Regions from separate parts of the Homo sapiens genome. Here regions 1 and 2 are each linked to region 3. The links are contacts of gene promoters, found by promoter capture Hi-C in blood cells and fetal thymus (Javierre and others, 2016). All regions are on one chromosome and are shown on one strand. Each heading gives the region's core, a stretch centred on a gene start or on the middle of the fragment in contact. The rest is flanking DNA. Distances are from core to core; before and after follow the strand shown.

Evidence for each region. Contacts are between HindIII fragments. The CHiCAGO score rates a contact against its expected background, and 5 or more counts as called.
Region 1: a fragment that was not itself captured here is called in contact with the fragment with the promoter of COA1 in region 3 in 2 of 17 cell types (megakaryocytes and total B cells); the score reaches 6.9 in megakaryocytes.
Region 2: a fragment that was not itself captured here is called in contact with the fragment with the promoter of COA1 in region 3 in 1 of 17 cell types (activated CD4 T cells); the score reaches 6.7 in activated CD4 T cells.

Annotation. Positions count from the first base shown.
Region 1 is chr7:43,421,273-43,425,277 of GRCh38, reverse strand. All of the region lies in intron 8 of HECW1 (HECT, C2 and WW domain containing E3 ubiquitin protein ligase 1), which reads right to left. Among named protein-coding and RNA genes, the nearest start is that of LUARIS, 99 kb to the left of the region's middle. The HindIII fragment of the contact is 3,576 bases long and covers 374-3,949 here.
Region 2 is chr7:43,299,541-43,303,950 of GRCh38, reverse strand. The region is part of intron 3 of HECW1 (HECT, C2 and WW domain containing E3 ubiquitin protein ligase 1); the gene reads right to left. It overlaps LOC102724903 (a long non-coding RNA gene), which reads left to right and starts at 3,640. Exons shown (of 3, transcript XR_428133.5): 1 at 3,640-4,017. The HindIII fragment of the contact is 2,714 bases long and covers 265-2,978 here.
Region 3 is chr7:43,726,708-43,731,094 of GRCh38, reverse strand. COA1 (cytochrome c oxidase assembly factor 1) reads left to right here and starts at 1,572. Exons shown (of 6, transcript NM_018224.4): 1 at 1,572-1,666. RefSeq lists enhancers at 1,262-1,461, 828-1,556, 1,557-2,286. The HindIII fragment of the contact is 9,306 bases long and covers 919-4,387 here.

The sequences.
Region 1 (4,005 bases), core at 912-3,411, 310 kb after region 3:
CACATGTGTACATCTGCATATATGTACACGTGTGTGTGTGTGTGTGTGTGTGAGTGTCTTGGTAAATATATAAAATATCCACTTCTGTTCAAATGTCCTTGATTGTATTAGCTGGGCTTGAAAGCTTGTTGCAACTCCATTGCTATGGCTTTATGGCTTTGCCATTCCACTGTTCCACATTACCGGCAGGCTGCATAATATCCCCCTTCTGATTACTCTATCAATCACTGGACTTGTGCTGTATTAATTCTGTTTGTATGTTTCTCTCAAAAACACACTAAGTTATACCCATACCCATTATTCCCTCCCTAATATATAATGTTCTCTTAGTCAAGGATGGATGCGTTAATAATTTAAATGTTTGTCATAAGCTTTTACAAGATACATAATACCTTCTCTGCTCCCATTCTGGGCTTAAAATTTTAAAAAAATCCCAGAAAATGTGGGATTAGCTAATTAATCATGGTATCAGTATAGTGATAATTACATAATACATGAAATCAATAGCATAACCACAGTAATTCCGTTGTGACAAAATTGCAATTTAAAGTAATTTACAATATCACAAGAACTCTATTGATATTTCCTGATATTTTTAACTTTGAAAAGACTGCTGTTTTATTTTATTTATTTATTTATTTTTTTATTTATTTTTGAGACAAGGTCTTGCTCTGCCACCCTGGCTGGAGTGCAGTGGTGTGATCATGGCTCACTGCAGCCTTGACCCCCCGGGCTCAAGCCATTTTCCCACCTCAGCTTCCCGAGTACCTGGAACTACAGGCACACAACACCAGGCTCAGCTAATTTTAAATTTTGTGTGTGTGGAGATGGGGTTCTGCTATGTTGCCTAGGCTGGTCTTGAACTCCTGGGCTCAAGCGATCCTACCACCTTGGCTTCCCAAAGTGTTGGGATTAGAGGCGTGAGCCACTGCACCTGGCCTGTTCGTATTTTTTTAGTAACTTTTTTTCCAGGCTAATAACCCATTGCCCTGAAAAATGCTGAGAAAGCTACACGGAGCAAAGCCTGTCAGGACTTGAGATTTGTCACTGGAGCATAGTAATTTTCTTCCAGCAAGACAAGCCTGATGGAGACAAAGATGGGGACCTGCTAAGAGGGCCCCCAAAAGGATGGAATCACAGTCAGAGATGAGCCTGGCTGAAGTGGAATTTCTGCTGTGGCCGTTTTATGTAGATATGCCAAAGACAACTGCTACCATCTCTGAAATTTCTTTTGTTCTCTCCCACCTGCCTGCTCCATCATTCCTGATTCTTGTATTTCCTCATTTCTAGATACTCCTTTGGCTCTGTCTGTACCTGGTTTCTGTTTTTCTGAAGCCTTCGTGCTTAGAAATCTGCTTAGATCTGCTCTCCTCAGACTCTAGCCCCACCTTTGATTTTTGGTATCAGTCTTACAGGATGTCACTTTTAGTGTTAGTCTTCAACTTTTTCAATCAATGAACGAGGCACCAGTTCCAGCTCCAGTCTGTAGTGTTTGCCAATTTTCTTGGTGTAAATACTCCCTCGATGGCTGATTTCACTAAATGTGGAGTTGGGAAGAGTTGCACATGAGCTGTCAGCTCACATGAGCTGGCTCCAGCTCACCACCCACCACCATGGATGGATGTGCCAAGCTAACCCCTTGCCCAGCTCACTCTATTCCTCCATAAGACATTGGCAATGGTTTTCAAGGAGTTTCACTGCTGCACTCAAAAACTCCATCTTATGTCCTCAGAAGTTGAAAAATGATGCTAACAGACAAGTACAAGGAACACTTTGGCAAGTGAATATCAAACAGTGTGTCTCTGAGTCTCAGGTTCTGTGAATGAGCCTCAGGCATCACTGTAGAACAAGAGGCAGTACCTCCAGTCTCCCACCCCACGTAAACAGAAGAGTGTCCCCTATGTTTTCATGTTGGTGATTCATTCATGAGTTCCTTTCATAAAATGGTTCAGCAGCTGATTTTACTAACAAAAGAACTGGTTTTTGTACTTAGATGATGGTTGTCTATGTCAGGGAACTTAAAAAATCATTTGTGAAACTGCTGTCCTGGGGAAATAATGCCGTCTTTAGGGCTGCTCACACACTCACCACCAGTACCAGCTCTGCGTTTCAGAGAATGATTTTCTTCCATAAATGTGATTTTTTTGTGCTAATGACACTATGTTTACTTTGTCCAGGTCAAAAGCACACTTTAATGTCTGATTAAATTATCTTGTAATTTCTAATCAGTCAGGACTGAAGTGAATGATCTATCTTAAACCAATCAGAGATTGTTTACAACGCCTTGGGGCTGTCTGATGACAGTAATCACTTAGCAATTGTGCTTAAATCCTGGAGACCACGACTCTCGGCCAGGCACTGCGATTTATCTCCAGGTGACGACTCTCGGCCAGGCACTGCGATTTATCTCCAGGTGACAGGGCTTTTAGCTTAACCTGGCTGATTGTTCTGCTCCATCAAAAAGGTTTTGGCAATTTCCCTTTCTAATAAGTCTCATTCTCATTTACTCATGGTGTTGTTGAAATGATTAAATGTGGTAACTCTGGTAAACAATCTACCAGTATATATAATTCTGGTAAAGCACTCGGCATCAAGAAGTATCCTCTAAAGGCCGGGTGCTGTGGCTCATGCTTGTAATCCCAGCACTTTGGGAGGCTGAGGCAGGTAGATCATCTGACATCAGGCGTTCAAGACCAGCCTGGCTAATGAACATAGTGAAACCCCATCTCTACTAAAAATACAAAAAAATTAACCAGGCGTAGTGATGTGTGTCTGTAATCTCAGCTACTCGGGAGGCTGAGGTAGGAGAACTGCTGGAACCCAAGAGACGGAGGTTGCAGTGAGCTGAGATCGTACCACTGCACTCCAGCCTGGGTGACAGAGCGAGACTCCTCAAAAAAAAAAAAAAACAACAACAACCAAAAAACAATTAAAAAAAGAGAAGTATACTCTAAAAGTTCAGGCCCAACCCTGACCCCTGGTGTTTATGCCCATATTTGACTCTTTAAGTTGTCTGGCAGTGGTTTGGGTAATTGTAGGGTAATGGTTTGGTTATGTTTAAATTGTTTGGTAATGTTTTGGTTAGGTTGGTGCAAAGGTAATTGCAATTTTGGCCATTACTTTTAATGGCAAAACCGCAATTACGTTTCCTCCAATCTGATATTTAACAACATCTCACAACCAGCACCAGCATTAGAAAACACCCTGAGCTCGCTGTACTGTTTGTTTGATGTTCTTCTCACACACCAGAGCCCTAGTTTAAACATACTGTAGGGAGATAAGCAAAGGGATATTAAAGAGACCAGAAGACAAAAGCAAGGGATCATGGCTAAGTATATTTACCTCCACACTTCTCTGTGTTCATGCCTCAGGCTGGTCCAGGCTTCCTCGTTTCCCACCTGGCTTCTGTAATGTCTCCTAACTGATGTCCTTGCTCCCTGCCTCCTATCAGCAGAGTTGGAGAGTCTATGTTCCACACCTCACCAGCAGCCATCATTGTTGATCTTCTTCAGTTTGGCCATACCATTGCACACTGGTGAGTGTGCAGTGGTATCACACCATACTTTTAATTTTCATTCCTGGATGTCAAAATAAGTTAAACACCTTCTCATAGGTTTAGTGGCATTTGGACATCCCCGCTTTGTGTGGTGGCTGTTGAAGTCTTTGTTCCATTTTTCTGTTGGTTTCTGTCCTTTTCTTTTTGATTTTAGGAGGTAGTATTTATAGTCTAGATATTAGCTGTCACCTAGACATAGCTCAACATCTTTACCCACTCTGTGGCTTGCTCTTAATGTAAAGTTTTGATGAACGGTGGTTCTTAATTTTATTGCCATTCAATTAATTATTCTTTTATTTTATGATTAATGCTTTCTATTTTCTATTTAAGATTTTTTTGGCTTCCACAAGGACATGAAAGTATTCTTACTTGTTTTCTTATGAATTAGAAGCTTTATTGTTATAATTTCATATCTAAATGTACAATTGATTTGGAATAGACTGTGTATG
Region 2 (4,410 bases), core at 372-2,871, 430 kb after region 3:
TACTGCCCCTGGGTCCTCCTCTCCCTCTCACATCCTGAGATTTGAGTCCTGCTTACCCATTTGTACCTCTGCTTGGGAACTGCTGTGTATGAGGGATGTTGTGGGACAGGGGCGGGTGTAGGGGCTCTCAGGTGTAAGGGAGGAGAGTGGGAGGTGGCTGCTAAACCACCATCTCTGTCTAACTCTTCAGCTCCCAGACACCTGTTCCTGAAACCTGTGCCTCAATTTGTGCTTTCAGCCTCAAAGCCATGTGCTAAAAAAGCTTTCTTTTGTGCTGGCCATTGTGTGGAAGAATATCACAGAATTACATAAACTAAATTGTGTGGGCTTCTTTTCTTTGAAAAAGAAATAAAATCCCACTCATTGCTGGCTGAAAGGGAACATTAGGGGGAGAAAATTTTAATAAGCAAATCAAGCCAAGCCAGATAATATCCACACAGGAAGTCATGATTTAAAATACAAGGAACTTGTTAAAATGCCAGTCAGACACATTATTTTAGGAACACATAATGCCTTATCGCTCATAAAAAAAAATCCACCAATAAGTGTAAGGTTGAACATCCCCTCCCACTTTTGACTCTGCAGCCCTTTGATGGCAGGTGTTGGGGGGCGGGGGGTGGGGTGGTCTTTGCTCCTTGTCGCTCGCACACCATTCTCACTCACACGTAAGAGAAACCAGCTGGAGGCCAGGCTCCAGGAGGGGCATGATTGGACCATTCACTGCTTTGCTCAAGTCTAGGACTGCTTGGTGCAGCTCTGGGTTATTTGGGAGGTTTATGTTTGGAGGCGTTCAGCAGCGAAGTTGCTGAAATCTGGGTGGTTTGTATGGGCAGAGGAATGGGCAGGGGGCTGTGGGTGTGGGAGAGGGAGGAAGGTGGCAGCCAGGAGGGCCTCGTCAGGTTAGCTGGGGCAAATTCCTGTTCATAATATTTAGCACCTCCTCTGGTTTACACAGAAAGGAAAGGTGAGAACTGGTATTCCTGTGTGTGTGTGTGCGCGCATGTGTGTGTGCACGTGTGTGGGTGTGTGTGGTGTGTGTGTAAGACACAGAGACAGAATGAATGGGAACTTACAGATGTGAGAAAGAGACCCATTTTTCCCTTCTCAATGTTAGGAAATACTGTTTCTTCCTCAGGAAGGCACTAGCCTGATTGAAAGTGGAAAAGTTTCCTCTTTACCTACTGATACCTGCAGAGGAAAAGGATATGTGTTCACCTCCCAGAACCACAGTGCGGCTCCAGGGGCCCAAGGCGCCCAGCTCCAGGAGCCCTGCGGACCATACAGGAGAGAAAGGGAGGTGGAGCTGCTGTGAGCCAGCCACATCATCCTCCCGGGGCGGCCCCGTACCGGGCATTTGTGAGGAGCCCCCATGATGACCTCAGCCTCACTCCATCCTGAGCCCAGCAGGGCTTGTGCTGTGCTGAGTGGGGTCACTGTGCCTCTTCCCGTAACCAGGGCACCACCACCTGCTTGGCTACAGTCCAGTCTCCAAAAGCCAACCCACAATACTGTGAATCACACAGGAACCCACAGTGACAGTCATGGGAGGGTTCTGGGCCAGCCCCTCCTCTTATTCACCGGGAAGCTGAAGCCTGAGAAGGGCAGCTGCCTGCCCTGACCACGCAGCAGGGGAGCAGCAGGGCCCCAAGTGGACCTTGAGACTCCCTGCGGCCAGTTAGCTGCCTCATCCATGGCCTGAGCTGCCTGGCTTGGGAGGGAGCCTCAGGCTTGTTGAGAAGCCTGAGGAGCCTCAGGCTGTTGTAAGCCAGTGTGTTTCCCTCCTCCATTCATGGTCGTGTCCTCATTTGCCTGCTATTAGGTGATGGGGCCAGACAGGGATTACAGTTCTAAGAAATACACTTAGGAGGGTTTCAGATGCAGTGCTGAGTTTGTATCCTCATTGAAATTAATACTCAAAAGCATGTTATCATTTGTCATGGAGGATCAAGGTGCTGTAAAGATGCTCTCTTTTAAATTCTTATATCCCCTGGGTGGTTTGACCCAGCATCTTTGGGTTTATTTTTAAGTAAATCCTGTCTTTGGTTTTATTCTCCTGCTTCTTTTTTTTTTTTTTTTGACAGAGTTTCCACTCTTGTTGCCTAGGCTGGAAGGAAATGGTGCGATCCCAGCTCACTGTAACCTCTGCCTCCCGGGTTCAAGAGATTCTCCTGCTTCAGCCTCCCGAGTAGCTGGGATTACAGGTGCGTGCCACCGTACCTGGCTAATTGTTTTGTATTTTTAGTAGAGAAGGGGTTTCACCATGTTGGCCAGGCTGGTCTTGAACTCCTGACCTCAAGTGATCCACCTTGACCTCCCAAAGAGCTGGAATTACAGGCGTGAGCCACTGCATCTGGCTTCTTCTTCCTTCCTTTAGCCCAGTCAATCAGGAAATGTGGATGGAGTCTTTAGTGTGTACCAGGCCTTGTGCTAAATGCTGAGTATGGATACAGAGAGGACTTAAACAGTGCTCATAGCCTCGGAGAGTTTGGTGCAGGAGGCAGACATTTAAGCAGTCAACTATGACACAATGGTGAGGGCAATAATGGGGTGGTGGGCATGGTCCCCCCTAGAAGGGAGAGAGATGCTGGGACCACCTTCCCAGATGGGAGGACATGGAAGCTGGACCTGGAAGGAAGGGGCAAGAGCTGAGGGAAATCCAATCTAAGCAGAAGGAACTTCTCGTGGAAAAGCGTATCTTTACTAGAAGCATGCTGAGCTTCCAGATTCAGCAGAGCTCCTCTTAGCTGTCTGCCAGACAGTGTTGGGGGCAGCTGGAAGTGTGTGAAAGGGGTCTCCCATGGCACACCAAGAAATAAGACCTTCTCCATTGGAGAGTGGGGGGCCACGGAGGTTTTGTTCACCTTAGAAACTTCACACTGCAGCAATGAGGGGGAGAGCAAGGTGGACAGAGCTGCTGTGTCTTGGGGAGCCCAAGTATAGCTCTCCTGAATGCCAAGGTCTACATGCAGGGAGAAGCTTTACCAATCAAGTGGTCCCTCAAGTCTAAACAAGTGGCACCGTGGCAGAAGTTACTGACAAAGTAGCAGGGGCGGCTCCTGGGCGGGTGCAGGGACAGTGTGCAGCTCTCACATCAGTGTGGGAGGTCATCGTACCTGCTTTTCCAGATCACCCATCAAGCCAGAAGAAGGCCCCATGTTGGACTGCAGCTCTGATAAGTGTGCCAGTCATTGGGATTATGAACCATAATGCCCATCATCAGTACACAGTGGGGTTGAACCAGCAGCAGCAGCACTTTCCTTTTGTGATCAAAGTGCCCCGGATGAACACGGCCATATCTGATATAAATTCAGTGTTGATGTCTCAGAGCATTTATGAGAGCAACTTAGAGCCATGATGAAGAGTGAAGCAGGCATGGCCGTTAGCAATATAAAGTCATCTCTCTCTCCTACATTTCATACCTATATTGGCAATATAAAGGAATCTCTCGCTCCTTCCACCCTTCTTCCACCCTCTTCTATCCCTCTTCCACCCTTGAAAGGAGACAAAGCCAGTTCATATTCCAGATGGGGCCACAGGTAGCACGTTCCTTCCCAGGTTCCTTCCCTGTCATCACTCTGCCCACTCTTGTGCTCTTTCTAGCTCTAACTGTCACTCAGTTCCAATTCTGGCTGCCACACGCCTTAGCCACACCAGGCTGCACCATCTCAGCAGCAGGCTGTGATAGGAGGACTGGCAGAGGTGGTTTACCTCAAGAGATTCCTATTGGAAGAGGAAGGAAATAAGGAAGAACTGGCAATATATGTATAGAATAGGCCTATCTGTAGTGATTTAGGATAGAATGGGGGAATTGAAAGGATAAGGAGGAGAATTAACCCACCAGCACCTCCGTCAAGCTCTCAACATTGATAGAAGAAAGAAATCACAACGAGGCAAAGACAAAGCCTTGCTTTTTAAGTGAGCCACAGCAGAATGGACACCTGTCTAACAGAGTAAGAGCTCCATGGGGAAAAGTCCAACAGCATCAAGATATCCCTGTGATCAAAACCAGCAAATCAGGTGACCTAGATGAGTGGCATATTGCTTTATTAGCAATTATTCAGGGGAATGGTAAAAGAAAGGAACAATTCTATTTTGAAAACAAAAAAATGGGATTTGATACTCAGCTCTGACAGCAAAGGAGAAATGATCACTAAGACTCTGTGATGTGGGCTGGGAGTGTGGAGGAATCACCTCAGTCCAAAGTTTCACTGGGTTCTAGAAGAACATTAAAAGGAAGGGGACACTTAGCTACTATGATTTCTTAAACGTCTCAGGCGACACTTACTGCTGAAATTCTTTAACATATTTAACAGAAAGTCTCTTCTGACATTTTCCACACAGCTAATCTTTCTGATTTTTCAGAGCTAAAAGGAAGGGACAACAATTGAGGCAGTTTGGAAACTTTTTTTT
Region 3 (4,387 bases), core at 323-2,822:
TCATTTTGATTCTGGGAACAGGGCAGCTATCTGAATAAAATAAGGATTTTGGTACAAAGGAGTTAGAGGAAAATGAATATTGGATAGGTAACATTATTCACTATAGAGTTTTGTTTTTAATGTAAAATTTAGACGAAAACTTTAGCAGATTTAAGTCCAGTGATAGAAATGTTAAGTTCTGAGTTTTCAAGCAAATGGTCAGAAAAGCCTATTTAATGTTTTATTACTTACAAAGTAAACATATTTCTCTTTCTGGTACAGAACGGGAGCTAATTGATCTCGGGTTCATTTTCATGAACGTTGTATGAAATGCACATATACCAAACCTCATAAGCTTTTTATTAGTTGATTTATTCTTTGAAATATTAAGCTTGGTGTAAGGTATTATAACCTCAATCTCTTTGAAAATGTAATAAGTCAATAATCAATGTTGCATCAATGAATATTACTCAGTGGATGCCTATTTTATTTCTTCTTTTTCTCTAAGAACCATTTAAATAGTCCTTATGGCCGAGCACTTCACAATCTGATTAGTTTCTATTAATTCTTTGGAAAAGAAACATTCTGGGAAGTCAGAATTCAGCGGTAGGTTGCTTTGATAATGTGCTCATTTAGCTAGTGGATTCCAGAGTGATAGAATGTATGTTTGGCAACCTAATTGTTGTGGAGGAAGAAAAGAACTTCTGTTAGAAGTTTTTAAAAAAGTTTAAAAATTGTTTTTACCTCATCAAAAGTTTGATGTCTTGTGAGTTTTATAGCATGCATAATATATTAATGCCATACATGACACATGTAAATATATATATATTTTTTCTGATAGGGATGTGTGAGCAAGAGTTTAAAGAAGAATGCCCCAGTCTAAAGTTAATTAGTCTTGGAGTGATGGCTTCGCAGAGGAAAGATACTGGATTTCAAGCTTGACATTAAGGTGATAATAGTGGTGACTATGGAATAATCAATATAAAAATAATAACAGCTAACAGTTACTGAGCGCCTACAAACTGCCAGACACTACTCTAAGTGCTTCACATCCTCATAACAAATTTATGAGGTAAATGCTATTATTATCCACCAGCCTTCTGAAATTTTCTTACCCCGTTACTCCCTGGTGTTAACTGGGTACTTAATTTGTCGAATAAAATAAAATTTAGTGCTGCCAAATTTGTCAGCTGAACGGGGCGGCAGGAATTTCAGTGCTAGAGTGGGGGGCCAGACGGCCCGGGGCTTCGTGTCCTTGGAGGCCAGCGGAAGCGCCGCATACCTGTGAGGAGCAACGTGAGCCGGTGGCTTATATTTCCTGGGCTAGTGCTACTGGACTGAATGCATTTGCAATAACCGGACGCAGAAAAAAAAAAAAAAAGCGGGGACCAGGGGAGGCGAAACCCTTCCCGGCGCGAGTCCGAGCGTCTGAGAAGCAGAAGCCACACGTCCCGGCGACCTAAGTTCTGGATCAGCCGGCCGGAGGACCCGTGTTAGCATTTACAATCCGAGGTGAGCTGAAGCCTCCGGTTGTCCCGGTTCGACGCTCTAGCCCTGCGAGCAGCCGACGCCGGAAGTCTCTACTGCTCCCCGCTGGCGCGCAGGACCGCGGGCATTTACCCGTGCTTTCCCAAGCCTGGAAGAACTCGTCATGCTCTTTGTAGCGTGGTGCTTCTGTTGCTCACAGGTTAGTCTCCCGCGGTATAAGAGTCTCCGTCTTCCCCCCAGCAAGAAGCGTTTGTTCCTGCAATTCGGGGGGCCGCCTTTGCGCGCGGGGTGCGCTGCTTCTTGGAGAGTTCCCTCACGGGTCACATCGCGGAGGTTCGCGCCGGCGCCGGGTCGCGGCCTCCCTGCGCAGCTTCTTTGGCACCTGGTAACCTTCAGTGGCTCCGTCCGCTCGGAGTTAGGAGGCTGTGTCGAGCTAACCTTGACCTTGTCCTGCAGTTTTTGCTGACCATCCCCAACAGCACACTGTAAAGAGTTAGGGTCCTCTCGAAGAGTTGGGACTGGGCACTTTTGTTGGTAGTGCTAAATTTCAACACCCTGAGGAGTACGCTGCCCAAATTATTGTAGGAAAGAATTACCTGGTTTAGTGGTTATAATACTTTTTGTCCCCACCACACTTGAATAACAGAAAAACCCTCCCAACAGGGGCTGACTGCAAAAGTGATTTTCTGTGTAGGGGACATTGGATGTATTTATGTATATATCAGTGCCTATCAGTCTGTATGTGTGTTTGGGGGTGGATGCTGTGTAATTTAAAAAAATCTATGGAGATTCTGATAATTTGATAACCTGTTTCTCCGGTCTTCCCCTGATTCCTCCCCATTCTCCCCGGAGGGCTATTGCTTTATTTCTGAGGTGGCTCACGTTTGGATAGAAGTAGCAACTCTCCGCTTACACCTGCACGTTTAAAACGCATATCAGATTGTGTTATTTCTGTCCTCAGAATCTTCCTGGCCTTCCCGTTGCTTTCAGGATAATACACATTTCTTAGCCTAACTTCAAGGGCCTACAGGGTCTTGATTCTGCTGAGTTTTTCAGTCTTTGCTACTTTCATGGAAAACACACCTGCAGGTACACTCATATTATGCTCCCACCATGCCAGTCTACGGTAATTTAATAACTTTAGATATGGCAAAGTTTTATATGGTTTACTCAAGTTTTAATTTTTGTTCTAGCATTTAGCCAAAATCGATTGAATTCATAATATTGCTAGGCACTGTTTTAAAAACGGGATAAAATGAAAACAAAACAAAACACAAAACAAAAGTCTTCAGTCCTTTAAAAAAATAAAACAGCTTCCTGACACATAGTTCACCTACCGTAGAGTTCACCATTTAAAACGTAGCGGTGCCTCACGCCTGTAATCCCAGCACTTTGGGAGGCCGAGGCGGGTGGATCACGAGGTCAGGAGATCAAGACCGTCCTGGCTAACACGGTGAAACCCCGTCTCCACTAAAAATACAAAAAATTAGCCGGGCGTGGTGGCGGGAGCCTGTAGTCCCAGCTACTTGGGAGGCTGAGGCAGGAGGATGGTGTGAACCCGGGAGGTGGAGCTTGCAGTGAGCCGAGATTGCGCCACTGCACTCCAGCCTGGGCGAGAGAGCTAGACTCCATCTCAAAAAAAAAAAAAAAGAAAGAAAACCTAAAAGTAATTAGTACATTAGTACATTCACAAAGTTGTACAACCATCATCATAAAATATGCTGTAATCTTCTTCACCTTCATTAGTTGGTTTAATTTTCTATTTCAGACAGACTCCAATAAGTTATTCTTGTATTCTTTTGTTCATGTTTAATATGCTGCATTCAGTTTGTGAGAGCCATATTGGAACAATTGAACATTTTCATCACTCCAAAAGGAAACCCTGTACTTATTCAGCAGGCTCACCTGACTTCCCCATCCCCACTCCCCATTCTAAGCCCTAAGCAACTATGAATTGACTGACTGTATATTTGACTATTCTGGATTATTCATGTGAGTGAAATCATACAGCATGTGGTCTTTTTCAACTGGCTTCTTTTACTTAACATTCATGTTCATCTGTGTTGTATTTAATAGCATGTGTCAGTACTTTTTTTTATTGCTGGTTAATCTTTTATGGGTATTACCACGATTTATTTTCCATTAGTTAGTGGACGTTTGGATTGTTTCCACCTTTTGGCCATTATGTGTAATGCTGCTGTGAACATTCACCTACAAGTTTTTGTGTGGACATCATGTTTTCATTTCTCTTGCGTATGTGCCTAGGAGTGAAATGGCTGGGTCATATGGTAGCTCTGTTTAACATTTTAAGAAATGGTCAGACTGTTTTCCAAAGCATCAGTGTGCATCTTTTTAACATTCGCACCAGTAGTGTATTAGGGTTTTGATTTCTCACTCCTTGCCAACACTTGTCATTATCTGTCTTTCTGATTCTAGCCATTCCAGTGGGTGTGAAGTGTGTGTCATTGTGTTTTCATTCTTTTTCGTTGACATGTAATAATTGTACATATTTAGGGACTACAGAGTGATATTTTGATAAATGTATACAATGTGTAGTGATCAAATCAGGTAATTAGTATGTCCACCACCTGAAACGTTCATCTTTTCTTTGTGTTGCGACCATTAAAAATCTCCTAACTTTTTGAAAATATTATGGTTTCAAATCGTATTTCCCTGATGGCTAATGATGTTGAGCATCTTTTCAAGTGCTTATTGCCCATTTATTTATCTTCTTTGGAGAAATGTGTACTCAGATCCTCTGCCCATTTTTAAATTAGGTTCTTTTTTGTAATTGAGTTGCAAGAGTTCTTTATATATTCTAGATACAAGTCATTTATCAGATATGTGATAGTCTTTTAGATTATGCTACCGTTCTTTTAAATGAAAAGCACATGAGATTAATTTTTTGTAGCCCTGGAGA